Regions from separate parts of the Homo sapiens genome. Here all the other regions are linked to region 6. Evidence: promoter capture Hi-C in 16 types of primary human blood cells and fetal thymus (Javierre and others, 2016). All regions are on one chromosome and are shown on one strand. The core of a region is centred on a gene start or on the middle of the fragment in contact, and the rest is flanking DNA. Distances in the headings are between cores, read along the strand shown.

Region 1 (3,267 bases), core at 596-3,095, 670 kb before region 6:
ATTCCTGTAATCCCAACACTCTGGGAGGCTGAGGTGGGAGGGTCACTTAAGGTATTTGTTATTTTTTGCGTACAAATATTTAACTAACTTAAAGTAAAATAAAGATTAACCGCACACATCACCTGCGAATTCTCTTATTTTCTAGGTTAACGCCAGAAATATAATCAAAATTTAATTATCTACTATTATACTCACTACTCCCGTGTAATAGCGTAGTCCAACCACATGACCTCTCAAACTTCCAAATAAAACGGAATCTACTTCTTCATCACTAGTTAGAAAGTCATCTGGAGGGATAACATCTTGGAATTCAAAACGTGGAAAGAAAGTTGGATATGAGAGGCGTGGAAAATTTCCATGAACTCCATACTGGACAGTCTGCAAGTACTTCCAAACTGGATCCCTATTTTTTTTTAAAGGCAAAGAAAAACAATATAATATTTAAGTATTTCCAAAGACCATATGAGTAGTTTTCTCATGCTTTACTTCAGCAAATGAAATCTTACATGGGAATCACGGTAAAGATTAATAGTTACTCTCGTTAAAGCAGGAATTGCAGTGAGTGGAGAAGGCTTCTAGGAACTCTACCTGTTTTCAATATTGGCTCTTCTACCTGCCCCCTAGGTATTCAAAATGAAAAGCCTAGTCAGAGTTCACTAACCTCTTTCCCAGTGAAAATCATCTAAATTGATATGTATATGATGTCTGTAACTACAATTATGGGCCGGATGCGGTGGCTCACGCCTGGAATCCCAGCACTTTGGGAGGCAGAGGCAGGTGGATCACCTGAGGTCAGGAATTTGAGACCAACCTGGCCAACATTGTGAAACCCTGTCTACTACAAATACAAAAATTAGCCAGGCGTGGTGGCGCCCATATGTAATCCCAGCTACTCGGGAGGCTGAGGCAGGAGAATCACTTGAACCCGGGAGGCGTAGGTTGCAGCGAGCCGAGATTGTGCCACTGCACTCCAGCCTGGACGACAGAGCGAGACTCCATGTCAAAAAAATAATTTAAAAAATGAAATCATATGCCAAAATTTCAATAGGGATTGAGCTATATAAAAGACTTATAAAAATACAACTATTAATGTACCAGAAGTTGTTTATAATTTTCCAGAAAATACATCCAGCATCCATCACTGTAACTCCCTGCGAGCAGAACACCTATTCTGGTATCCAAACCACGCCACCGTGGGAAATTGGCCCCAAGCCACCCGTACCCGCCTTCCGTCGCCGGTTTAAGCATAACCCCAAACCCATTAGGTGTAACTGTTTCGGGAATGACCATAAATACCAATTTGGACAATGAAAAGTGAAGGGGAGTCTACTGGAGCATTGCAAAAAGTTTCCATTCTCCTAAGAACAGTCGCTTATTTGCGATGCGTTTTCCTTGCAAGTGGCGCATATCTCTACTAGCGCCTCTGCAAATACTTATCTGCACGTCTGTGCATACAGATAAGCTGTGAGCCACTTGGGGACAAGGACTGTCTTACTCGGCCCTCCACCGAGCACAATGCCTGGCGCACAGTGGGTATCTAATGGATGTTTTGTTAAATAAAGCACTGGCCGAGATGCTTTAAGCCCCAGGCCCCCCACAGTCGGTGACAGAGATTTCCCAAGTCCCTAACACGGGACTCGCCCTAGGAGCCCCTACTCGCCAGCGAAGACAATGCATTTATTTCTCCGGCGGCCACATATGCGACCAACAGAACGAATACAGCTGCACAAATCGCCCAGGGAACGCAGAGGAACGCGGGGAAGGTCAGGTTCATTTGGGGACGCCTCCAGGCCGTTAGACCGAGCGCCCCACCCCCTCCGCCCCCTTCACCTCTTGAACATCCAGGACATGGCGCTGAGTGGGATGACAAGAGGAGCGCCTCGGCTCCCCTGGATCGTTTTCGAGCCGCCTCGATACGCCTCCTTCCAGGCCCCGCAGCCCTGAAGCCGGGGACAAATTCCGAGCGCCGGATCAGGAGCGCACGACTGAAAGGTAAGTCGCCGCGAGTCCAGTCAGACGTCGACGCCGTCTCCTTCTGCAACAATCTGGGAGACCAGCGTCGCTCTGTGACTGGCACTAGGAAAGCCCAATCACGAAGAGGAGAGTGCGGAGCCAAACCAGTCAGAGCACAGAAGGGAGGGCAACTCCGCCCCGCTGCCATTCAAAGACGGCGGGGGGTCCGGGCTGCAAGGGTGGTTCCATCCGGGTTCTTCCCCGCCCCCAAGGCGGGCGCGCGGGAAAGCCACGAGGCCCCAGGAGTGCGACTGCGGTGCCTGCGGTGCCGGTGTTTTGTTTGATTCCCTGCCTCAAACGGAGGGAAACGACCTTCCTTTATCCTACGAGTCCTAAGACTGAACCCCATTCTAAAGGCTCTACCGTATCCTTCCTCTTATTTTCTTCTCATCTAATGTGGCACATAATAGGGCCTTATACTAAAGGAGCTCCACGGTTTACGAGACCTAGAGCTACCGGCGAGATACTTTACTTCATTCCCTGTGGTGAACCGTGGGGACTTTCGCTCCAAATTTTCATGTTAAGCCTCAGCGTATGCATGAGACACAACGAGTTTGGAAAATCTTAAATGGAACTTAGAGTCCCCTCCCCACCTCTTTTTGTTATTTTTAAGGAAAATTTTCCTTTCTTGGTGCAGGAAACCCATCACATGTTTATTACAGCTATGGGGGCGTTTGCCTGAAATGGTGGACGGGACCATTTTCCCCGTGGGCACTTGGCTGCTCCAGCCAAGAGGGGGAGGCCCTTGTTTTCCTCAAGGAACTGCAGAGGGGCGCTCTGAGGCCCTCCATGGCTCTCTTTCCAGAGTCTGAGGTGACCGGAAGGAGAATGCGGCCCTGGGACCGTCAACCTTGGACCAGCTGCAGCCGACGCCTGGCAGGGCTGGTCGCTTTGCGTTGAGGAGGCTGCTGTCCCCGAAGCTGGCCTTTTAATCGCACAGGGCAGGAAGCTGGTGGTGGCGCCCAGCTGCACAGGCGGCACCATGTAACTGCCAGATAATACTTGCGCGTCACAGAGAGGTCCATGTTACACGCCTGTCAGCACAATAATATTAGGTGGTCAGCTTTTCTTTTTTCTTTTTTTTGTTTTTTTTTCTTTTTTATTGAGATGGAGTCTTGCTCTGTCCCCCAGGCTGGAGTGCAATGGGGGTGATCTTGGCTCACTGCAACCTCCGCCTCCCGGATTCAAGCGATTCTCCTGCCTCAGCCTCCGGAGTAGCCGGGATTGCAGGAGCCCGCCACCACGCCCAGCTAA
Region 2 (3,370 bases), core at 468-2,967, 790 kb after region 6:
CTTACTGTTCTCCATGTTTGAGGGTATCAGAAGCCCCCTGTGAGGTTCACGCTGTGTATAGACTAGGTAGCAGATTTCCCTTCTGTTCCTCTTAAAACAGCTTATTTTAAAAGAAATATCCTGAGGCAATTAACAAAGCAAACACAAGCAGCTTTCTTTCCAACGCATTAATACATAGACACTGCTCAGGTTTTTTTTCACCAAGTTATGGCTAAGTATACAAATAGCCAATACTTGCAGTTTTCAACAGTACTAGAAAACCCAAAACCTGCCCTATGACCCTCACCCTTACCATTAGTAAAACGTAAATTTGATCAATCATAACCTATAAAGTCATATAACAAAGGGAAGACTAAAGACTGATCATTATCAGTAAATCCATTCAATTCCAGATGCCACTTTAGGCTGATGTGTCTAGTACCCTAATGATTGAAAAATCATTAATCTAGAAAAAGCATTTGCAAACTAAGGATAACTTCGCAGTTGATGTGCCTTTTTTTGCTATTAAAAGTGCTATTTAACATGCTAAAATGTCTTATGGCACATTGGACTCAACAGCATGTTCTGATGAGGCATCCATTTTTAGCAGTATTTTTCCCTAGAATTTTGTTTGGCATAGTAAACCCCTTTGATATATTAAAATAGTTCTGGTGAAATAAATGTAACATAAACAAACCTTCCCTGACTGACTTCACTCCACCACGGTAGCTTTTAGTGAAACCACAGTAACTGATTAAGTCAGAAAACGATCAAGTTTTTTTTTTATGGCATCTTGGGTTACTATACTCACTCATGCAAAATCCAAGGTAGTGTAATGGAAACAATATTGGTAAAATAGATGTTGTGGCTATAAGCATCTCCCTTTATATTAGACATTTAGAAGCTTTTAAAACTTTTTAGATGCTAAAGGTTGTGGCAAAACTAGGCTGTGTAGTTGTTCCATTTATAAGCACCTTATTACAGGACAGTTACATGAACCTATAAGGGAGTGTGCTTTCAGTTCAAAAGAGTAATAAAGTGCCTAGCTATATAAAAACCACAAGACTTCAAATTGTAATTTAAGCTAACTGCAGTTATACATTTGGGTTAACAAAATCTAGACCCTGTCTATGCAGAGTTAGACTAATTGTTCATACTGTTTTAATAACCACATAAAAAAACTTACTCTTAATTGACTGAATAAGTAGGGTCCACTACTGTATCTTAACAATCAAATTTTATTGCTTTATTCATGTGGTGTTTTTTGCAAGGCACTGTGGTATGGACTAGAAAACTTGGAATGACTCATGAAGAAACCTTGGAATGACACATGAAGCATGATAGGAAAGTCATTCTGAGGCAGGATGCTTTACTGAATTGTTTTCAACCAGGGTATCAAACATCAGGAATGAGTTCAAGTTAAAATTCACAGGAGAATGGAAACATCTTAAGGTCAGTCACTTCACATGCCCATCCTGATACTTTGAATAATCTGGAAAATTGCTGTAAAAAGAAAGAGCAAATATTAAAATAAGCTTTGAATAAAATAGGTCTGGTGTCTAACAAATATTTATTAAGGTAGCTGAAGAATCCAAAGGTACTCTTACATTTGCAAATGGTACATAACTTCAGTATAATAAGAAGTGAAGACAGGCCTGTCTGAATAAATAAAACAATGAAATATCCCTGAGTTATTTTTTTATCTTAGCTTCGCTGAACTTTATGTCTAAGTATCCAAGAGAACTTGCAGATAAGTAATCATTTTACAAAGAACTTAAAGCACCAAAGCCAACAGGTTTTTCCAGCATAGAATTATTTTGGTTTATAAGCATCCTTTTAAGGCCTGGCCTGTAACACATGCATGTTTCCTCATTCTCACAAAGCTGAAATTCAATCATCTTCAGGTTATATAAACTGCTTGGCTCTCATCCATTTATCAGGAAAGCTTCCAATTGGTAAGTGAAGAAGAAAGGCAAAGTGAAACGTTAAACAGAAATCTCAGTAATTTTAGAATGTGGAAAACAAACATCTACTTCAATATTAACAGCTTGCATATTAAAATGATAAATGAAGAGAGGAAAGACCTTTTTTTTGTAATCTATTTGCAAAGGCAAGTGTCTGTTACTCTTAGGGGACAGCAGGCTACCCCGACACTTTTTTTTTAAACCATGTATCAAACGTTTCTTTTATTAACCTAAAAACATTTGACTCACACATTAAAATGCCAATCAGGTAATTTCCTCTATAGTGAATCAATTCTTTGCACAAGCTTTATTTTATAAAATATACTCAATTTTGACATTAAGACATTAGATTCTGGTATATGTTAAATCAAGTTCTAACATCTATAGTACATATTTATAATTTTCTTTGCAAAGACTGATAATGGAGTTACAAAACATTCTAAATTCTCATTTCGTTAGGTTTTGTCCGGTCTTAACATTTATTCCAACTGGATCATTACCAAGACCTGACCTCCTTTTTGATCTCCTGTGAGTACAAATTAAGCTGGGAGAAGTTTCTGGAGCACCACCCTCTGTGCATATGTGGAACAAGTAATTTGGTTCAGACGAAACAGAATTATGTGGAGTCCTCGGCAGGTGGGTTGAGAACTACGCAGGTAGGACTCACTACTGACCGGTCACCACGTCATCCCAAATCCTTTCAACCCAAGACTCTACCTGATGGGAGCCCCCAAGCCACTTACCAGAACCACAGACAACAAAAATGAAGAGAGCCAATAACCAGGGTCCTACAGACGCCTTCTCTTCGGGGGCATTTCTCTGCAAAAGCGAAAATCCACCATTTCAGATGCAGAGAAACCACTCGGACCCCAGGCTCCCACGCCTGCACGCCGGTCGCCGGCCCCCTCACCTCACAGGTCTCCCCTTCCGTTCCCGAGCCCCCACAGTCTGGCGGTTCGCAGACTCGGGCCCCTACCCCTCCACGGCACCAGCCCACGGTCGGCCGGATCCGGGAGAAAACGCGACGCGGCCCCAGGGACCCGGACTCAGCTCCGGCTGCGGAACGCAGAGGGGCGCCCGCTCTTTCCTTACCGAGGTCTTGGCGACGTTGCCGCGCTGGGTGATGTTCTTGCTGTGCTTCTCGTTGGCCATACGGATCCTTTGCTTGGCGACCATCTTCGCGGCGCCACCACCTGCCCCGGCCACCCCTCGGACTCGCTCACTCGCCTGCCTCCTCTGGAGCCGCTGCGAGGCTCGGCTCGTGGTGCCCGCGCCGCCGGAGCGCCGAGGTTCTCAGGCCAGACGCTAGCTACGGCCGCTGGGCCTGGGCGCCGCAAGCGCGAGGTCTGAGCACAAGCCGGGCGCCGGCCGCCGACTGACTGACCGAGCGGGGCAGGTGCGCAGGAGGAAGAGAACTGGCCGCCGGG
Region 3 (3,429 bases), core at 21-2,520, 640 kb before region 6:
TCATTGTCCATATAGGGCCTCCTAAACTGGCTTTGCTGGAACCTCTCACAAGGCCATTTCAGTCAAAATTCTGGGAAAATAACAAGTTCCTCCACCTGTGTGTCATTAGAAAAGAAAACAGGTTCTTATTAACCACATGCAAACAACCACATTGCCATGAATTAAGAATATTCACAAACAGTTTACAAATTCTGGAGAAATTAGGCAGAAAGAGAAATATGCCTCAAAGTCTGTTTACAAAAGTATATTCTACTCAGTATATTTAGGCTACAAATAGCTCAAAACAAAAAAATTTCTCCAGACTCTGAAAAAAACAAAAAGAATCAGCAATATTTCAAACAAAAAAAGCCATAAAAATTATTTCAGTCCTCCATTAGTTCAGTCCATACAGTTAACTCTTGCTCTGCTTCATAATGGGTTAGCAATCTTTATGAACATACCAGCCTTTCAATTAGTGCCCTGGAAGTTTTCTTTCTAATGTAATGGCACAATCTCCAAAGTTATCAGAAACCTGCACTCAGAGTCCTTTCATGAACTCCCCCAAAGAAGCAAGCCCTGGACTGTAGCTAATTATAAGTCACTTTTTGAGAAGGATCAAAGCAAAACAACAATTGTAGATGGCAAAACTTAGCATGGCCATAAAGACACAGTTGACAAGATAATTTGGTTATTTCCATGGCGTACAACAATTTAATAATCATAATTATTACTGACAACATATATTAAGACATACCAGAATTTTAGGAGTCTCATACAATCCTGGAATACATTGGCAACACATCTAGAAATATGACCCAAAGGAAGCTAACTATCACCTCAGATTTGACAATGCTTCCTGAATAATTCTAACAGAACAAATAAGCCTAATATATCTCTCTTGGAGAGAGACAGGTGACTTCAGGGAACCTAATATCCAAAAAAGTTTGTTTAAGGTCAAAAAGATTGAATTTAAAACCTGAAATTCCACTCTTGGAGTCTGTCAAAGGTTTAAGACACTTCATATCACAAAATAGGATCATAGGTCATTATGAAATAGTCATTCATCTAGCTGAAATGATAAAACAAAAATATTTACTCTTTGATAGACAGACTCAGTTTCCCAAACAATAACACCTAATAAACTCAACACGAAGCCAACTAAATGTGTCTCCCCCCGTCCATTTTTTTTCCTGCAGTTTACTTAAAAGGTAAACACAAATCTCTTAAGATCTCTTACGTGAAAATGTTGTTTAAAAGAGAAAACCAAATTTTACATTTGTATGGTATATTATTAATACTAAAGCTGATTTAAATAAAACCTTATAAACAAATCTATCTAATTTTAATCAGTTTGACCATAAAGTAAGATTTCCATAAACTTTTTTTTTTTTTTTGAGACAGAGTCTTGCTCTGTCACCCAGGCTGGAGTGCAATGGTGCAATCTCGGCTCACTGCAAGCTCTGCCTCCCGGGTTGATGCCATTCTCCTGCCTCAGCCTCCCAAGTAGCTGGGACTACAGGCGCCCGCCACAGCACCTGGGTAATTTTTTGTATTTTTAGTAGAGACAGGGTTTCACCAGGGTCTCGATCTCCTGACCTCGTGATCCGCCCGCCTTGGCCTTCCAAAGTGCTGGGATTACAGGCGTGAGCCACCGCGCCTGGCCTCCATAAACTTTTTATAACCTTTTACAATTTTTTATTAAATAACTGATTAATGCTCCAAGAAAACCCTGTTATTCTGACACACAGTCCCAGATGCTGGCTTGCATCAGTATGCTTTTGATATTAATGTTTAATTTACAGAAACACTCTAATCTTATTATTCAAAATCAGCACTTACAATCTCACGCGCCCACCTCTTCCACTATAGTCCCTGGGCCTAGAGGGATTGCTTAGTTTTAATTTCCAGCCCTGTGTCTCATGAAAGCAGTTAATTTTGATTGTTGCCTTCTCTTGCATCTGAAGACGATAGTTCAATTGGTGTCAATGCTCAAAATTTAAAGGGGTAAGTGCCTTCTTCAGATCCAGGAGTCAAAGCCCTTAACAGCACAAGCATTAGTTAACAGGATATTTATACTGCAGAAATTCCTATCACTCTCTCTAACATGTTACAAATTAAAACACTATAATTTGGTGTATAGGAGTTACTGCCTGCACCACTTCCAACCACCGTATTAAAGTAGTTAGATTACTCATGGCATGTGTCTAATTGCTAGCATTCTGTGATAGATCTATGACCAAAAGCATCAAAAAGTGATAGGTCCTATGCCAACTCACCAAAGTAAAACAGCTAACCTTTCTCTCCATCATTAAAAATAAAAAATAAAAATAAAAAGCAAATGCAAATATCAGTTCTGGAAACTCAGTATGAAGATAAATTATCTCCCTTCCCTTAAATTCTGTACTACAAAACAGGCACAAAGTAAGAACAAGCACACAATAATTTATTTTCAGCTATTTCAACGAGCATCATCATGCATTTCCAAGATTGGTTTGTAGATATAGTACTAACAACTGATTAGGTAACTTTCACCACTAAAATCTTCAAACCAATTTAACATTTGTACATATTTTATTTTCAAGTACACACATGAAGCCCTAACAGTGATAAAAAGCTTAGGATCAAAGATCACTAGAAAGTCTCCCCTTAAAAAAAAAATTACTACTTAATTGAAGTGACTGTCACTTAATTTTAATAATGGTTAATGCAACTAAAGCAATTACAGAGAAATCCTGGTCAATGGAATTCTTTAAGAACAAGGCTGGCTGGGCACAGTGGCTCATGCCTGTAATTCCAACACTTTGGGAGGCAGAGGCGGGCAGATCACCTGAGATGTGGAGTTCAAGACTAGCCTGACCAACATGGTGACACCCTGTCTCTACTAAGAATACAAAATTAGCCAGGCATGGTGGTGCATGCCTGTAATCCCAGCTACTTGGGAGGCTGAGGCAGGAGAATCACTTGAACCCGGGAGATGGAGGTTGCAGTGAGCCGAGATTGAGAGGTGATAGCGTGCTGGCAGCCCTTGCTCACTCTTGGCGCCTCCTCAGCCTCGGCGCCCATTCTGGCCATGCTTGAGGAGCCCTTCAGCCCACCGCTGCACTGTGGGGAGCCCCTTTCTGGGCTGGCCAAGGCCAGAGCTGGCTCCCTCAGCTTGCGGGGAGGTGTGGAAGGAGAGGCATGGGCGGGAACCAGGGCTGCGCAAGCGGGGCTTGCAGGCCAGTGCGAGTTCTGGGTGGGCGTGGGCTCGGCGGGCCCCACACTCGGAGTGGCCTGCCGGCCCCACCAGCCCCGGGCAGTGAGGGGCTTAGCACCTGGGCCAGCAGCTGCTGCTGCACTCAATTTCTCGCCGGGCCTCAGCTGCCTTCCCGTGGGGCAGGGCTCAGGACCTGCAGCCCACCATGCCTGAGCCTTCCCCCCTTCACCCCCTGCTGTGGGCTCCTGCACAGC
Region 4 (3,531 bases), core at 679-3,178, 770 kb before region 6:
TCAAAAAAAAAAAAAAGCAGGTTTAAGCTGTTAAGTTGGCAATACTCCCCAAACTGATCTACAAATTCAATGAAATCCTTATCAAAAGCCCAGCTTTCTTTGTTTCAGAAACTTATAAACTGACCCTAAAATTCATATGGAAATGCAAATTACCCAGAATAGCCAAAACAATCTTGAAAAAGAAGAAAAAATTTTTTAAGATTTTATTTTTATTTATTTATTTAAAAAAATTTTTTTTGAAATGGGGTCTTGCTCTGTCACCCAGGCTGGAGTGCAGTGGCACGATCTCGGCTCACTGCAACCTCTGCCTCCTGGGTTCAGTGATTCTCTTCTTGCCTCAGCCTCCAGAGTAGCCACCACACCCGGCTAATTTTTATATTTTTAGTAGCGACGGTGTTTCGCCATTTTGGCAGGCTGGTCTCAAACTCCTGACCTCAGGTTATCCACCCATCTCAGCCTCCCAAAATGCTAGGATTACAGGTGTGAACCACGGTGCCCGGCCCTCAGAAGAACAAAATTCGTTCACATTTCCAAATTTCAAAGTTACTAGAAAGCTACAGAAATCAAGATGGTGTGGAACTAACATTAGGATTGACATATAAATCAATGAAATAGAATTGATTCCAGAAATTGAATTTAGTCACATTTATGATCAATTGATTTTTCATAATCGTGCCAAGACAATTCAGTGGGAAAAGAATAGTCTTTTCAACAGATGGTATTGGAACAACTCAATGTTCACACACAAAAGAAAAAACCTGAACTCCTACTTCACAACATAAAAAACTTAACAAAAATTAACTCAAAATGGACTATGGACATAATTTTAAAAGCTAAAACTACAAAACTCCTGAAGAAAACATAGGAGTAAATCTTCATGACTTTTGGTTAGGCAATAGTTTCCTAGGTATGACACCAAAAACAGAAGCAACAGAAGAAAAATAAATTGGACTATATCAAAATTTAAAACTTCTATGCTACAAACAATACTACCAAGAATATGAAAAGTTAACTCGCAGAATGAGAGAATATATTTGCAAATCATATAGCTGATAAAAGATTTGCGTCTAGACAAAGAAATTTTACAACTCAATAACAAAGTAAACCCAATTAAAAAGTGAGCAAAGGGTTTGAATAGACATTTCTCCAAAGAAGTTGTACACATGGTTAGTAAGCACATGAAAAGATAATCAATATCAAAAGTCACTAGAGAAATGCAAATAAGAATCACAACGAGATATCACTTCAGACAACAACAAATGTTGGCTAAGAAACGAAGAAATTTGAACCATCATACATTGCTGGTGGAAATGAAAAATGATACAGATGTTCTGGAAAACAGTCTGGCAGTTCCTAAAATGTTAAACATAGAATTACCACATGATCTAGCAATTCTACTCTTTGTATATATTTAGGAAAAAAAATATGTCAATGCAAAAATTTGAACACAAATGTTCACAGCAGCATTATTCATACCAGCCAGAGTGGAAACTACCCAAATGTCCACCAACATGTTCATCCATAATGAATGGATAAACAAAATGTGGTATACCCATAATGAAATATTATTTGGCAATAAAAAAGAAATGAATTTTTTTTTTCACAACAAAGACCACGCCATTTATTTACAAAGGCCAGTGTGGGAGCTGGGGGAGGCAGGGAGGGAAAGCCACACAGACATCTTCTCTGGACTGCTTGGGACCCTTTCCCACTTGGAGCAAACTCTGTTCCTCTTGCCGTCATATTCTCAGCCATGGGGTCGGTCCTCCAAGCAGCTGGGCCAAGTAGGAGAGGGAAGAGGTGATATGAGCCTCCTCTGTGCTCTGACAGAGCAATGTCCAATTCCAGATCAAAGGCATCATTGCCACCCTCTCCTCTCCTTCCTCAAAGAAAACTTTCTGGCCTGGAGGGAAATAGTTAAGAACTGAAAGGCCAGGGGCTCTGGAGGAAAAAAACCCTCTACTATTCCCACAAGGCAGTGAGGGGTGATAAGGGTGCTAGTCACAGCCCTGACAGCTTCAGAAAGGGTACCCACATTACCTCTGGGTTACCCAGCATCCAGAGCTCCAAGGGACCTAGCTCTCCCAGATATATATTCCTGCAATGGACTGACCTTTTTACCCACTTGTCTCTGGTGGTGGGAGAGCACTCTGAACCAGAAACCAACAAGGAATCCACTTCCCACCCAACTTAAGAGTGTATGCACACATGTGGATACACATGCACCTCCCCACTACTCACACAGACCCCAACCCCCTTCATGTCTTTTGAGGGGGGCTCAAATTACTGGTGCCTGGGGACACAAGCAAGACCTGGGTCCATGGAAATGTGTGTGTGTGTGCATATAAGCACATGTGCTTGAGGAACTAAAGCCAATATGACCCCTTGTGGGGCGTGGCGCTTAGCTTCATTGAGCTCCTTTCTTCAGTTTAAATTCCATTAGCATCTCTAAGTCTCTTCTGCCAGCTTGGGCCTGGATTCTTCTGCCTAAAAGAGCTACGAGTGCTTCTGCTCCCCACTGTTAATTCCAACTTCCAAGCCTTTTACTCAGGCTGTCTCCCCCATTCCCCTCCTCCGAATAATCTCATTCCCTCCTCTTTCACATCAATTTCCTCTGAGCTGCTCCAGGGTTTGTTAATTCCTGTCCAGAGAGCTCTCTCATCTCCCTCTTCAGACAGGGAGAACAGGCGTCTTCCTCCTTACCCTGGAATTTCCAACAGTTCCCACCAAAAAGTGCTGAATGAACCAGAATAGGGGCCGAGGAGGAAAATTACCACCTGTTTCACCTGCTCCTCCTTCAGAGCGAGAAATTCTAGCATTGGTTGGGCTAGGGGTTGGGGGGTAGGGAGAAAAAGAAGGAAGAGAGTTACCAAAAGTAAACATAAGACAAAACCCTAGTGGTATAGATGGAAGACTATGTTCCAGTAAACCAGAGAGCTGGTTCCTCCCTCGACTCTGCACAGCCACTGAAAGTTTAAAGATTGCAAAAGTGGTGTGGGGCAAGGAGGTAGAGTCAATCAATGAAACTGTGAAAACTGTTTAAGTAGCACTGCTCAAGGAGACCAGGAGAGAAGATTCTGTTAGAGACGTAGCAGTAAAACCATAATTCTCAGACAGAGCTAAGGGGTTGGAGCCCATGTCTCTAAAGTCACCCTGCTGTTTGGAAAGGATGAGGGAGAAGACGGAAGGGATGACAAGCTGCAGAGGGTAAGGATTGACAGAAGAACCGAATGCTGACATCGAGGGAGGGGAGAGGCAGGAGGCATGGGACGAGGGATTAGGAGAGCTGGGAGCCCAGCAGTCTCTCGATAGCTGCGTTGATGTCCCCTCCTGTGGCAATCAGGGCCTGCAGGTTGGCCTCACGATTGATGAAGCCCATGGAGTTGAGCTGCTCCAGCTGCTGCTGAAATCTCACTTCTGACGTCTGCACCTGTGAGTTTCCACTTCCAGCCAAAAGCTGGATCATCTGCTGCATGAGTTGCTGCTGGGTGCTGGAAGCCCCTGTTGGAGAAGATGTGGCTGGCGTGGCTG
Region 5 (3,730 bases), core at 357-2,856, 710 kb before region 6:
AAAAAAAAAAAAAAAAAAACCAGGCTTCCCCACAGAAACATTCTATACAAAATACAGTGGTACAATGACAACATAGATTCTTAAGGAAATGGGTGATCCAAAAATTATATAACCAGGCCATCTGATATTTAAGTATTTTAAGGCAACAGAAGAAATATAGCCTAACGGCTAAGAGTACAAATTTTTAGAGCTAGCTGGTCATGAATTCAAAACCTGGCTGTGCCAATTTAATTATGTAACCTTGGACAGGTTGCTTAACCTATGTCTTGAGCTTCCTCAGTTCTAACAGTGGCATTGTAAAAGTACCTACCTCATACAACTACTGTTATTTAATTTAATACATGTAAAGTATTTAAAATAGTGCCTGGACTATATTAAGTGCTATACATGAATCTGTTGCTAGTATTAGTACTGGTAGTATTATGGCAACAAACATTTCTGAATATTCAAGAATGCAAGGAATAGGCAAAATAATACAAAGATTAAACTTACAAGCTCTAAACCAAAGTGCCAGAGTTAATCTGTCCTGTCACTCACTAGCTGTGTGACAACAGTGTAAGTCACCTAAACTGCTCTGTGCCTCAGTTTCCTCACTTATAAGATGTGGATAATTATACTGACCTAATAGGATTGCTGTGAATACATTTAAAGCACTAAGATCAATGTATAACACCTAGTGAGTGCTAAATAAATGTTAGTAAATATATAGCCTATTAAAAAGAATACTTTAAAAATAACTTATTTTCTGAGAACAGTTTCAATAAAGTTAATCTTTTTCAACTTTTTCAAATAGAATAACCTTTACTAACACTAATTATTCCCTGGCATGGTCATATCTTACTGATACTCAGCATTTCAATTTAAGAGATCTCTTTTGAGTGCCTACCATGTGCTAAATATTAGAAGCTTCCTTCCTCCTATTTCACCAGCCATTGCTATCTTCACAGTTAGATCTCTTTCACTTTACTCACTCCCTTGGTGATCTCATGGCTTTAATTACCATCCACACATAGCTGACTTTGAACTCGACTCTCCTATCCAACTAATTATTTGATATCTCTACTTGGAAAATTCACGGGCATCCTATGATCAATGTGTCCAAAACTGAGCTTCTGATCTTAGCTTAAAAAAATCTCTGCTCTTCCCATAGACCTGTCTTGGTAAACAGCAATTCCAGCCTTCCACTTATGCAGGTAAAAAGGCTTGAAGTTATCTTTGATTCCTCTTTCACATGCCATAACATATCAACCAGCAAGTTCTGTTGGTTCTACGTTCACAATTTAACAGAATCTAATCATTTCTCACTCCCTTTATCACTACTATGGTAAAAACCACCATCATCTCTTGCTTTGACTGCCACTGGTCTCCCTACTTCTGACCTTATTCCTATTCAAATAACCTAAATCTGAGCACAGCAGCCAGAGTGATCTTTTAAAAATATAAATCAGATTACGTCCCTCTCCTGGCTCAAAACCCTTTAAGGTTTCCTGTCATAAAAAGTAAAAGCCAAAGTCCTTGACATATGCGTTACATACCCCCATTCCAATAAATCTCTGATATCATGACTATTTTCTCTCGTTCATACTATCCAGCCACACTTGCTTCTCTGTTATTCTTCAAGCTCACCAGGCATGTTCCCAACTGGGAGCATCTACACTTGCTCTTCCTTCTGGCTGAAACACCCCTTAATCCCAATCTCCTTTAGATCTTTACCTATATATCATCTTCTCAGTGAGGTCTTCCTTAATACCCTACTAAAACAGCTTTGGCATTCCCCATCCCCTTTCGTTGCTTTATTCCTTAAAACTTAATCATGTTTTTAAATTATCTGTTTCTTCCCATTAAAATATAAATTCCTCGAGTGCAGGCATTTTTGTCTGTTTTATTCTGCTGTATCCCAATGGGTATAAGTGCCTGGCACACAGTGGGCACTTAATAAATTTTTGTTGAAAGAATATGAAAAGAAAGAAGATTTTGAACTCAGAAATCTGCTGCTTAGAACAATCTTTCCCACTCTCTCTAATTCCTATCAAACCTGCTTTGTACCTACCTCACTGAAGTTTTTATGTTTTGAAGATTCCCCTTTCACAGTCCTATTCTGCTTTCACTTGTCTCTTATTCATTCTGTTCCCTGTGGGCTCACATTAAACCTGATCTTGCTTGGACCAGAATTTCATACCTTCTACCAATCCTTAATCTTCTTGTTAAACCTATTTCATCAGTTCCTATTTCCAGATTTCCATACGATTTTGGAAATAGAAGCAAGCAAAATCTTCTGGCTAGCAATTGAGAACTTGTCATTTAAAGTAAGCTTTAAATTATTTCCTAACTTAAAAAATTACTTACCTGGTGAATTATACTATTATTTCATTCACTTTATTGATTTGTAAAAAACACTGTAATTCATAGAAGCAAATTATCTTTCAGTATACTTCAAACTATTGCTAACACATCTAAATAATGTCATTCAGTGAATGGGAAACAAAGTAAACAAAAACTAATTTTTAACATGGTTTTCTTTCTCCATACCTTCCAATAGTGGCTCTGCCTTCATTTTTCACAGACTGATAAATCTTTCTCTCTTCATCTGAAAGTGTAATGTGCTGAATAAATACTTTACGTTCTGGTAACTCCAAAACAGGTTTTCCTTTAATTTTGCTTGTCTTTGTTCTTCTAAGTGTAATATTTTTAATTAGGGACTGTAAACGCCTAATCAGAATAAAACAAATAATTATGTAACTTTTAATTTCTACATAAATTGATCCAAGAAGAACGAAACAGAACATTTTAATTTGTTACTGTTTTATAGCTTCTGTAAAAGTGTTTTTAAAATCCCTTATTTGGGATTTTAACCAATCTGATAATCACAGAAGTATTCTACAAAAATAAAATTATTAAAACAAATGTATGGAAATTTCCCCTCAATACCTAACATAGTTTAATCTTTTTATATCCTGTCCTTATTTTCGTAAGTTCTGTTCCCCATTTTTGTTCCAATCACTAACTCTTTTACTTCTCAACTGTCCTGTCAACTCCATCACCGAATAGTCAACACTCAAATTCTAAGTATCTATTAAGTGCCAGGCACTGAATTAAATGTTGTAAGAATACAAATATGGGTAAGATACTACATTCTGTAATATTAAAATCAAAAGTATATAAATAAGTAATTGTATAAAGTAATGAGTGCCCCCAAAATAAAAAGATAATATGGTAATTCAGAACACAGAAAAATGCTTTACAGGTTCCACAATCTTTACATTTCTTTCTCAGTACTGGAAAAAAAGAGATGTATCAATTCTTGTTTTTTCCCAACATTGAAATATAAATACAATTTCCTGGAGTTTAAATAGTTGGTTTTGAGGAATCAAGTGGATAGTACTGCCAACTAGGTTAGTGGCTCTTGAAGCTTTCTCACTATAACTCACAGTAAGAAACACATTCTATCCAGCAAAAATATACAAACACATACAAAAGAAACAAATATTTCACAAAATAATACTTACTATGTATCATGCACTCCGATATTTACTAATCTCTTCTCTATTTCATTGTCTTTTTAAATGCTGGCTACCACCTTTATAATGATTTTATATCCCACTAATAGCTCTCAAATCTTCAGTCTATAAACCGGTGCTTTAGCCAAAAAGTTGAACCACATTACATCTTGCAAAATGGCTATCACTGAGTTTTAATTTATGTTCTCAACTTTTATCTATCTCCACCAGAA
Region 6 (3,641 bases), core at 1-2,500:
AGATGATATGATTTTTATTTTTTAGGTATGTCTTCAAAAAATCAATTATAAACCATTAACAACATTATTAAAACACACAGGTACCTGCCAGGACTATGATGTAGAGTACACCAGACCGTTCTTAAGAATCCAGCCAACACAAAACAGTCCAGAAAATCCCTTACCATGAGCTTTGAGCTCTCAGTGAGGAGATACGTTAATCCTTCCACACCATGCTGGACAGTGTCACTACTCACATTGAGTTTTCCTGAGAAAGAAAAGTAAAAACGAGCAAATAAATTACTACTGTAGTATTTATCTTGTTCATATTTGTATTTAAAAATAAACACTATTCATTATTACATGTTTTCAAACACTGCATGAAAAACAGTAAGTTGGCCAGAGGCTCCTGCTCCTTGTCATTCCACTCCCAGCCAAATGCCTTTGGTATTTCCCACCAAGTAACCTTAACAAAATGCAGAACTGTGGAGACTAGTATCAGGTGCGTAGCCCTTCTCTTGAATACGTAGCTCCTTCAAGTCTGGCAGAAGAGGAACTCGACAGGGATTGACTTAATCCCAGAGACTGCCTCTTACCCAGGGGTAAAACAACACTTTTTTTTTTTTTTTTAGCAAAAGCGGATATCTGAACAACTAATAATGATAACCAAATACTTGCAATTTACAGTTGACCCAGCTATTCCACAGACTTTGGTATATTTATACAAAACACTTTTCAGTATTTCTGAAAGTAAGGTGGTATTATGTACATTTTACCATGAGAAAACTGATTTAATAGAAGCTTTAACAATCTCACAGCTACTTAAGGGACGGGCAGGATTTGCACCCTGACTGAAGAGCTCTGCTGGTTTTATTCTACTACAATCGGAACAAGACCCTAGGACTCGCAATAATCCGTTTCTCTCCCGGGAGACAGGGAATGGCTCGCAACCGCCCTAGAAGCCTGCGGAGCCTTCCCCTTTCCCTTCTTACTGGCGGCGCCTTCGTAGATTTTTGGGTTTGCGCCGCGTCTCAGGAATTCCACAGCAATCCGCCCAAACTCGGCGACCACTGCAATGAAAGTCAGAAGGCTGTTGAGTGCCAGGCGCTGCCTTTGACCTCCTCCCCAGCCCACAGAACACCGCCCCCACGCCCGCTGACCCGCGCTGTCCACTTGAGGCAGGAAGGCCAGGTGTTCCTTATGCTCCTCGGACAATTCCAGCAGCATCTTCACTGTCCTACGATTTCACCCGGCAGCGCCGACCCCGCCTTCGCCACTTCCGGCGCCCGTGTCCCGGCGCCTAGAGGCTCCGGCGTCGCAGCGTCCGGAGCTTTGGGTTCCGGCCTACGAACTAACGCGTTACACTCGGACGTTCCCTGCAGCGCAGGCTGAGGTCAGAACATTGAAATCATCCCGCAAAGATGCAGTGAGCGCCTGCTGGGTGCAAGGTGCTAGGCTCTATGGGAGATGAAAAGGTGTTTCAAATCCGACACGCCCCCTCGTGGAGCATACATTAATAATATCAATAGTTCACATTTGTTAAGCACTAACCGTGTCAGGAAGTGTTCTTACATTTATTAAATACATTTGGAGTTCAGAAGAACCCTATGAGGTAGGTTCCATTATAATTTCCATTAGAGATAAGGAAACTGATAGACAAGTCCAGCAACTGACACTTTTATAAAGCTAATAGTTTCCAGAGCTTCTATGTTATCTTAAATGTATCTCAGTTAATATCCTCAACAAACATGGCTTTGTTTTTACAGATAAGACACAAAGCTCCAGAGATTATGTGACAAAGCCTGTGACAGAGTTAGATGGAGAGGGTTGGATCCCTCACTTACCTGCTGCAAAGCCCATCCTTCTACATAACAGCCTGAAAGCTGAAAGCTTCTGACAAGTTTTATGAGTGATTATAAATTAGGATAAAGATAATGATGACAATGACCGATGCTTACAGGATTCAGAGCAATGTTTTTGTTTGTTTGTTTTGTTTTGTTTTGTTTTTTACATGGAGTCTCGCTCTGTCGCCCGGCTCACTGCAACCTCTGCCTCCCGGGTTCAAGCGATTCTCCTGCCTCAGCCTCCCGAGTAGCTGGTATTACAAGCGCCCACCACCATGCCTGGCTAATGTTTGTATTTTTAGTAGAGACGGGTTTTCACCATGTTGGCCAGGCTGGTCTTGAACTCCTGACCTCAAGTCATCCAGCCAACTTGGCCTCCCAAAGTGCTGGGATTACAAGCATGAACCACCACACCTGGCCCAGAGCAATGCCTTTTAAAAAGTATTTAGCGCCTGTGATAATTTAGTTCCTTTTCCAACTCTCTTCTCACCTGCTGTGGTTCAAATATCAGAGATGATAAAGTTGCTAATTGATAGGAATATGATTCTTCAAATCTTAACCCCTTGAAAATGGAGGGTGTGGAGGAAGAGAGGGGAAGGGAAGAAGACTCTTCATATCTGTCTTTTCTATCTAAGGCTTGAGACAACTCTATATTCTGAGTCTCCCAGGCAGACTAAAAATTGGAAGAGTTTTTCAATTCACTTCTCTGTGTCTACTTTGTCCTTCACATCTGACTGAAATTGTTTCTTCCACTGGGACACAGAAAGACAGGTCCTTGAACTTATTAGTTAGTTCTTGAAGTAGCATTTGCAGAGAGAACACAACTTTTACTTAGACTGTGAATTGCAGATTAGCAAAAATTGCATCATTTCCTGAAGTTGCCTTTATTCACACATTATTGAGAAAACATCCATTATTAAAGAATAATTTTCAGAAAAGGTAAAATCATGATTCTTCTACAAGTGTACAATGAACACATGTCAAAAAATGTATTGAACTAGTTAATTAATGAGAGAATTACAGCATTCTGTAATTAATGAGAGATTACAGTAAAAACCAGTTTCAACTGATTCAAAAGAGGTATTCAAGAACTGTACATATATAGGGAGTAGGAATGCTGAAATGAATTTGCAAATAGACACAATATTATGCCAATATGAAATGGCCTTTCTTGTCTGTAATCTCAGGGAATGAAGTGAGGACAGGCGAGGTGAAGGTGAGACTAGGGAGTAGCACAATAGGCTGTCTAAAAAAGGTGGTCAAGGAACCAAGTTAGGCCAGGTATGGTGGCTGATGCCTGTAAACCCAGCACTTTGGAAGGCCAAGGCGGGAGGATCACTTGAGGCCAGAAATTCAAGTCTAGCCTGACCAACATGGTAAAACCCCATCTCTACTAAAAATACAAAAATTAGCAAAGCTTGGTGGCATGTACCTGTGGTCCCAGCTACTTGGTAGCCCAAGGCATGAAAATTGCTTGAACCTGCGAGGCAGAGGTTGCAGTGAGCAAGATTTGAGTCACTGCACTCCAGCCTGGGTGACAGAGTCAGACACTGTCAAAAAAAAAAAAAAGAAAGAAACCAAGTTATATCCAAGAAAAACCAGCCTGGGAGTTAAAACACCCCAGGATAATTTATAGAGTGACTTCTGTTGCCATAAGTGATATAATTGTTTAGAAAAAATTACCTGAGTGAAAATTCAAAACTCTAGATTCCAGATCTGGCTCTGACACTACCTGTATGACTTCTAATAAGTTGTTTTTATGTTATAACCATAGCCTCTTCGTCTGTAAAACTGGCATTTTAATACTGCCCTTCTGTG
Region 7 (3,338 bases), core at 116-2,615, 800 kb before region 6:
TCATATCTGTGTACCACCTCTACTGTAATTTACCTAATATGTGTATGCCAGTTGGCTTATATTTTTGCATAAATGAACTTAGTTGTTTAAAAACTATATCATTGCCATGAAATCACGACTTTGGTGTATATATATATTTTTTATTTATTTATTTATTTATTTTGAGACGGAGTCCCACTCTGTTGCCCAGGCTGGAGTGCAGTGGTGCAGTGGTGCGATCTCGGCTCACTGCAAGCTCCGCCTCCTGGGTTCACGCCATTTTCCTGCCTCAGCCTCCCAAGTAGCTGGGACTACAGGTGCCCGCCACCACACACAACTAATTTTTTTGTATTTTTAGTACAGATGGGGTTTCACCATGTTAGCCAGGATGGTCTCAATTTCCTGACCTCGTGATCCGCCCGCCTCGGCCTCCCAAAGTGTTGGGATTACAGGCTTGAGCCACCTTGCCCGGCCATATTTTTCTAACATACAATACAATAAAATGTACAAGTAAAAATTGCTTTCAAATGTTCTTCCCTGTAACAGTAAACATAGTTTTTACATCAATGGGGTAGCCTTACAATATCTGAGAAAACACTAATAAAAGGGAATAATCTGATCCCACCTTTCCTCCAAAGATGGCTCTAAGGAAAAATGTAAATAGGGAAGTTTTGTATTGAGGGCCTCATTCCTCATCCATGTTCTCCTTCCTTTAAACAGTAATCACATAAATCACTGGGGGTGGGGCCTGGGTATCGAGTAATTCTAATATGAGCTAGGGGTAAAAGCCATTATGTCATTTCCCTTTCAAAAGACATTTCTCCTCAACAATGAACCTCATTCCTCCTACCACTTCCATAGGGCCAGCCTTTATGCACTGAGAGAAAGCCAATTTTCAGGCTGTCCTAAATTCATACTACATCAATATGTCTATACATCCACTACTGACAGGCTTGTTTTACTTATTTCATTCTTCCTTTCTTCTTATTCTGTTTCGTTATTTTATTAGCTAAAATAAATGACTTTTCTGATTTTGGAAGCAAATGTTCAACGAAAGAAAATTTAGAAAGTAAAAATAAGTAACAAAAGTAAACACTTTAAAGGCCCATAATACCACTTTTAACACTGCAGGACATATATCAAAACCCTTTCTAGAATATGAGTCAGAGTGTTATTTAGAAAATGGTATGTGCTGAATGCACCACTGTAAAAGAAGGAGAGATGCTTTTTCCTCCCTCACTCCCAAGCAAATTTCGTGTTCTAAGTCTGAGCTTCCTAGCCTCAGCCACTTGTTAATAAGTATAGTTGCAGAGCTACAAACCAGAAGCCAGGAGGTGCTAGAAAGCTAACACTCTATCCACCCAGAAAGAGACTAGTCCTGAGAGTGGAGGCCTAAGCCAGGAGGACAGAAGTTTTGCCAAGGAGGAGACCAGTGGCATTGGGTTCAAGAAATGGTGAAGATCTATGCCCCACTCCCAAACAGTCCTCAAGCAGTGACCTGGACTGAACCCCAGGTTTTTGGCCTTGGCACACAACAAAAAATTCCCGTGCCCAGCTTGGTAGAGGAAAGGAAGCTGCCCTCTTAAAAAGGGCAATGAACATCCTAAAATCCTCAACAGCTTTATAAATCAAGAAGAGCCTCCTAAAACTCAACTGAGATGGAATGTCCTGCTAGTTGTGGTCGGTGGGAGGGGACAAATTGATCTAATTTGGAATTGTTAAGGCCCATTGACCTAAACCACCAGATTTCTGGAGCCTCTTGATAAGAGGGAGTTGAGAGGGCTTCTTATAAGATCTGGGAATTTAATGGATAAATTTAAGGAGAAATTAGGAAAGTAGGGATCAAATCTGGATGAGATTCTGTCAAAATGAAGGTACAATTTTTATCTTAGCAAGGAAAAAATTTTTATCTTAGCAAGGAAAAAATCTAAAGTGGGTAAGAGTTGTCATTCATTTAAAAAGAAAGAAAATAGCAGTCACTTCTGTTAAAAGAAGAATGTATCTAGTCATTTTTATGGTTATAGAGTGGCCTCATCTTTATCTTGTTCCAAACATAGTCACAGAGTGGCCTTGTCTGAACATTGTTTATATTCTGTAAGCATTGTTAGTGTTCACTTGGGAACGTCATGATCCAGCAGCCAGCAGCACAAATTTTTACTTTCCTAAACAAATAAAGGAATGTATCACCACTCAGACCAAACTAATATTTACTTTATATATATACACACACATACAAATAAAATATTATGCTATACATACTATTGGATAATATGCTTTATATAATGACATAGCATCAGTAGCTTTCCATGACAGTGTTCATCAGCATCACTTTAAATGTAGGAATGGAGCTCCATCATGCAGATGAGCCAAAACGTGTTTCATTAATCCCCCATTGCTCAACATTTAACATGTTTTCCTTTGTGTGTGTATGTGTGCGTGTGTGTGTGTGTGTGTGTGTGTATTAGTTTGCTAAGGCTGCTGTAACAAAATACCACAGACTGCATGGCTTAAATAAGAGAAATTTCTTTTCTCACAATTCTAGAGGCCAGAAGTCCCAAATCAAAATGTCAGCAGGATTGATTTCATTCTGAGGCCTCTCTCCTTGACTTGTAGATGGCTTTCTTCCTCCAGTGTCTTCACATGGTCTTTCTTCTGCGTATGTCTATGTCCTAATTGCCTCTTCTTATAAGGTTACCTGTCATACTGAATTAGGACCCACCCATTGGACTTCATTTTACCTCAATTTCCTCTTTAGAAGTCCTATCTCCAAATACAGTCACATTCTCCACTACTGGGAGTCAGGACTTCAATATATGAATTTCGGGAGACCCAGTTCAGCCCATAACAATGTGAACATCTCTGTATCTATGATTTTGTGTACATCCATAGTTATTTCCTTAGGATAAATTTCTAGAGGTGAGATTGATAGGTCAAAGTGAGACCACAGTTTGAAGGCTTTTGGTAATAACATCAAATTGCCCTGGAAAAGTTGGCACGATCTATGCCCTCACCAAGCAGTACAGGAAAGTAACTTTAGCCCTGTTTCCTTCATTGTGCTTTGTAGTTTTGTGATCTCTTTTTATTGGTTTCATATTTGGCAGATTTGCCTATCTCCACATGAGTTCAGATAGCCCAACATGTTAGTGAGACCAAGACTGTAAGTTTAATAGCTTCAGTAGGAGTTTTTATCAGTAGTTATATAAACAAAGAGAATATCCTATACATAGTAAATCAGGACTGTCATTTCTATACACAAAGGACAGCAAAGTTAGATTTTTTATTGATAGAAATAGTGCCTTGATTTTTATATCAAGCATTTAATACTCTATTTTATACTCTACGACATCTCAATAAATGTT

The links. Contacts are between HindIII fragments. The CHiCAGO score rates a contact against its expected background, and 5 or more counts as called.
Region 1: the fragment with the promoter of HLTF-AS1 here is called in contact with the fragment with the promoter of COMMD2 in region 6 in 9 of 17 cell types (naive CD8 T cells, activated CD4 T cells, total CD8 T cells and 6 more); the score reaches 19.6 in naive CD8 T cells.
Region 2: a fragment that was not itself captured here is called in contact with the fragment with the promoter of COMMD2 in region 6 in 2 of 17 cell types (naive B cells and naive CD4 T cells); the score reaches 5.8 in naive B cells.
Region 3: a fragment that was not itself captured here is called in contact with the fragment with the promoter of COMMD2 in region 6 in 2 of 17 cell types (fetal thymus and naive CD4 T cells); the score reaches 6.3 in fetal thymus.
Region 4: a fragment that was not itself captured here is called in contact with the fragment with the promoter of COMMD2 in region 6 in 6 of 17 cell types (naive CD8 T cells, activated CD4 T cells, non-activated CD4 T cells and 3 more); the score reaches 11.0 in naive CD8 T cells.
Region 5: a contact is called between a fragment that was not itself captured here and the fragment with the promoter of COMMD2 in region 6, in 2 of 17 cell types (total CD4 T cells and activated CD4 T cells). The highest score is 6.0, in total CD4 T cells.
Region 7: a fragment that was not itself captured here is called in contact with the fragment with the promoter of COMMD2 in region 6 in 2 of 17 cell types (fetal thymus and naive CD4 T cells); the score reaches 7.8 in fetal thymus.

What each region holds. Positions count from the first base shown.
Region 1 is chr3:149,084,487-149,087,753 of GRCh38, forward strand. HLTF-AS1 (HLTF antisense RNA 1) reads left to right here and starts at 1,846. Exons shown (of 3, transcript NR_046648.1): 1 at 1,846-1,992. It overlaps HLTF (helicase like transcription factor), which reads right to left and starts at 2,047. Exons shown (of 25, transcript NM_003071.4): 1 at 1,831-2,047; 2 at 196-403. The coding sequence starts at 1,850. RefSeq lists enhancers at 1,374-1,891, 1,797-2,006, 1,892-2,409. The HindIII fragment of the contact is 6,248 bases long and covers 1-3,267 here.
Region 2 is chr3:150,543,017-150,546,386 of GRCh38, forward strand. SERP1 (stress associated endoplasmic reticulum protein 1) reads right to left here. Exons shown (of 3, transcript NM_014445.4): 1 at 3,036-3,370; 2 at 2,687-2,762; 3 at 1-1,482. The coding sequence starts at 3,119. The coding sequence ends at 1,442. Among named protein-coding and RNA genes, the nearest start is that of SERP1, 1.8 kb to the right of the region's middle. RefSeq lists enhancers at 2,991-3,370, 3,067-3,370. The HindIII fragment of the contact is 410 bases long and covers 1,513-1,922 here.
Region 3 is chr3:149,106,235-149,109,663 of GRCh38, forward strand. No RefSeq gene overlaps it. Among named protein-coding and RNA genes, the nearest start is that of HLTF, 21 kb to the left of the region's middle. The HindIII fragment of the contact is 2,641 bases long and covers 1-2,591 here.
Region 4 is chr3:148,982,584-148,986,114 of GRCh38, forward strand. It overlaps the pseudogene UBQLN4P1. Among named protein-coding and RNA genes, the nearest start is that of GYG1, 7.2 kb to the right of the region's middle. The HindIII fragment of the contact is 9,960 bases long and covers 1-3,531 here.
Region 5 is chr3:149,043,551-149,047,280 of GRCh38, forward strand. HLTF (helicase like transcription factor) reads right to left here. Exons shown (of 25, transcript NM_003071.4): 18 at 2,530-2,709. Among named protein-coding and RNA genes, the nearest start is that of HLTF-AS1, 41 kb to the right of the region's middle. The HindIII fragment of the contact is 1,405 bases long and covers 905-2,309 here.
Region 6 is chr3:149,751,239-149,754,879 of GRCh38, forward strand. COMMD2 (COMM domain containing 2) reads right to left here and starts at 1,251. Exons shown (of 5, transcript NM_016094.4): 1 at 1,140-1,251; 2 at 972-1,049; 3 at 165-247. The coding sequence starts at 1,206. RefSeq lists a silencer at 1,407-1,476. The HindIII fragment of the contact is 1,089 bases long and covers 779-1,867 here.
Region 7 is chr3:148,949,709-148,953,046 of GRCh38, forward strand. All of the region lies in intron 2 of LOC107986045 (a long non-coding RNA gene), which reads left to right. Among named protein-coding and RNA genes, the nearest start is that of GYG1, 40 kb to the right of the region's middle. The HindIII fragment of the contact is 6,256 bases long and covers 1-3,338 here.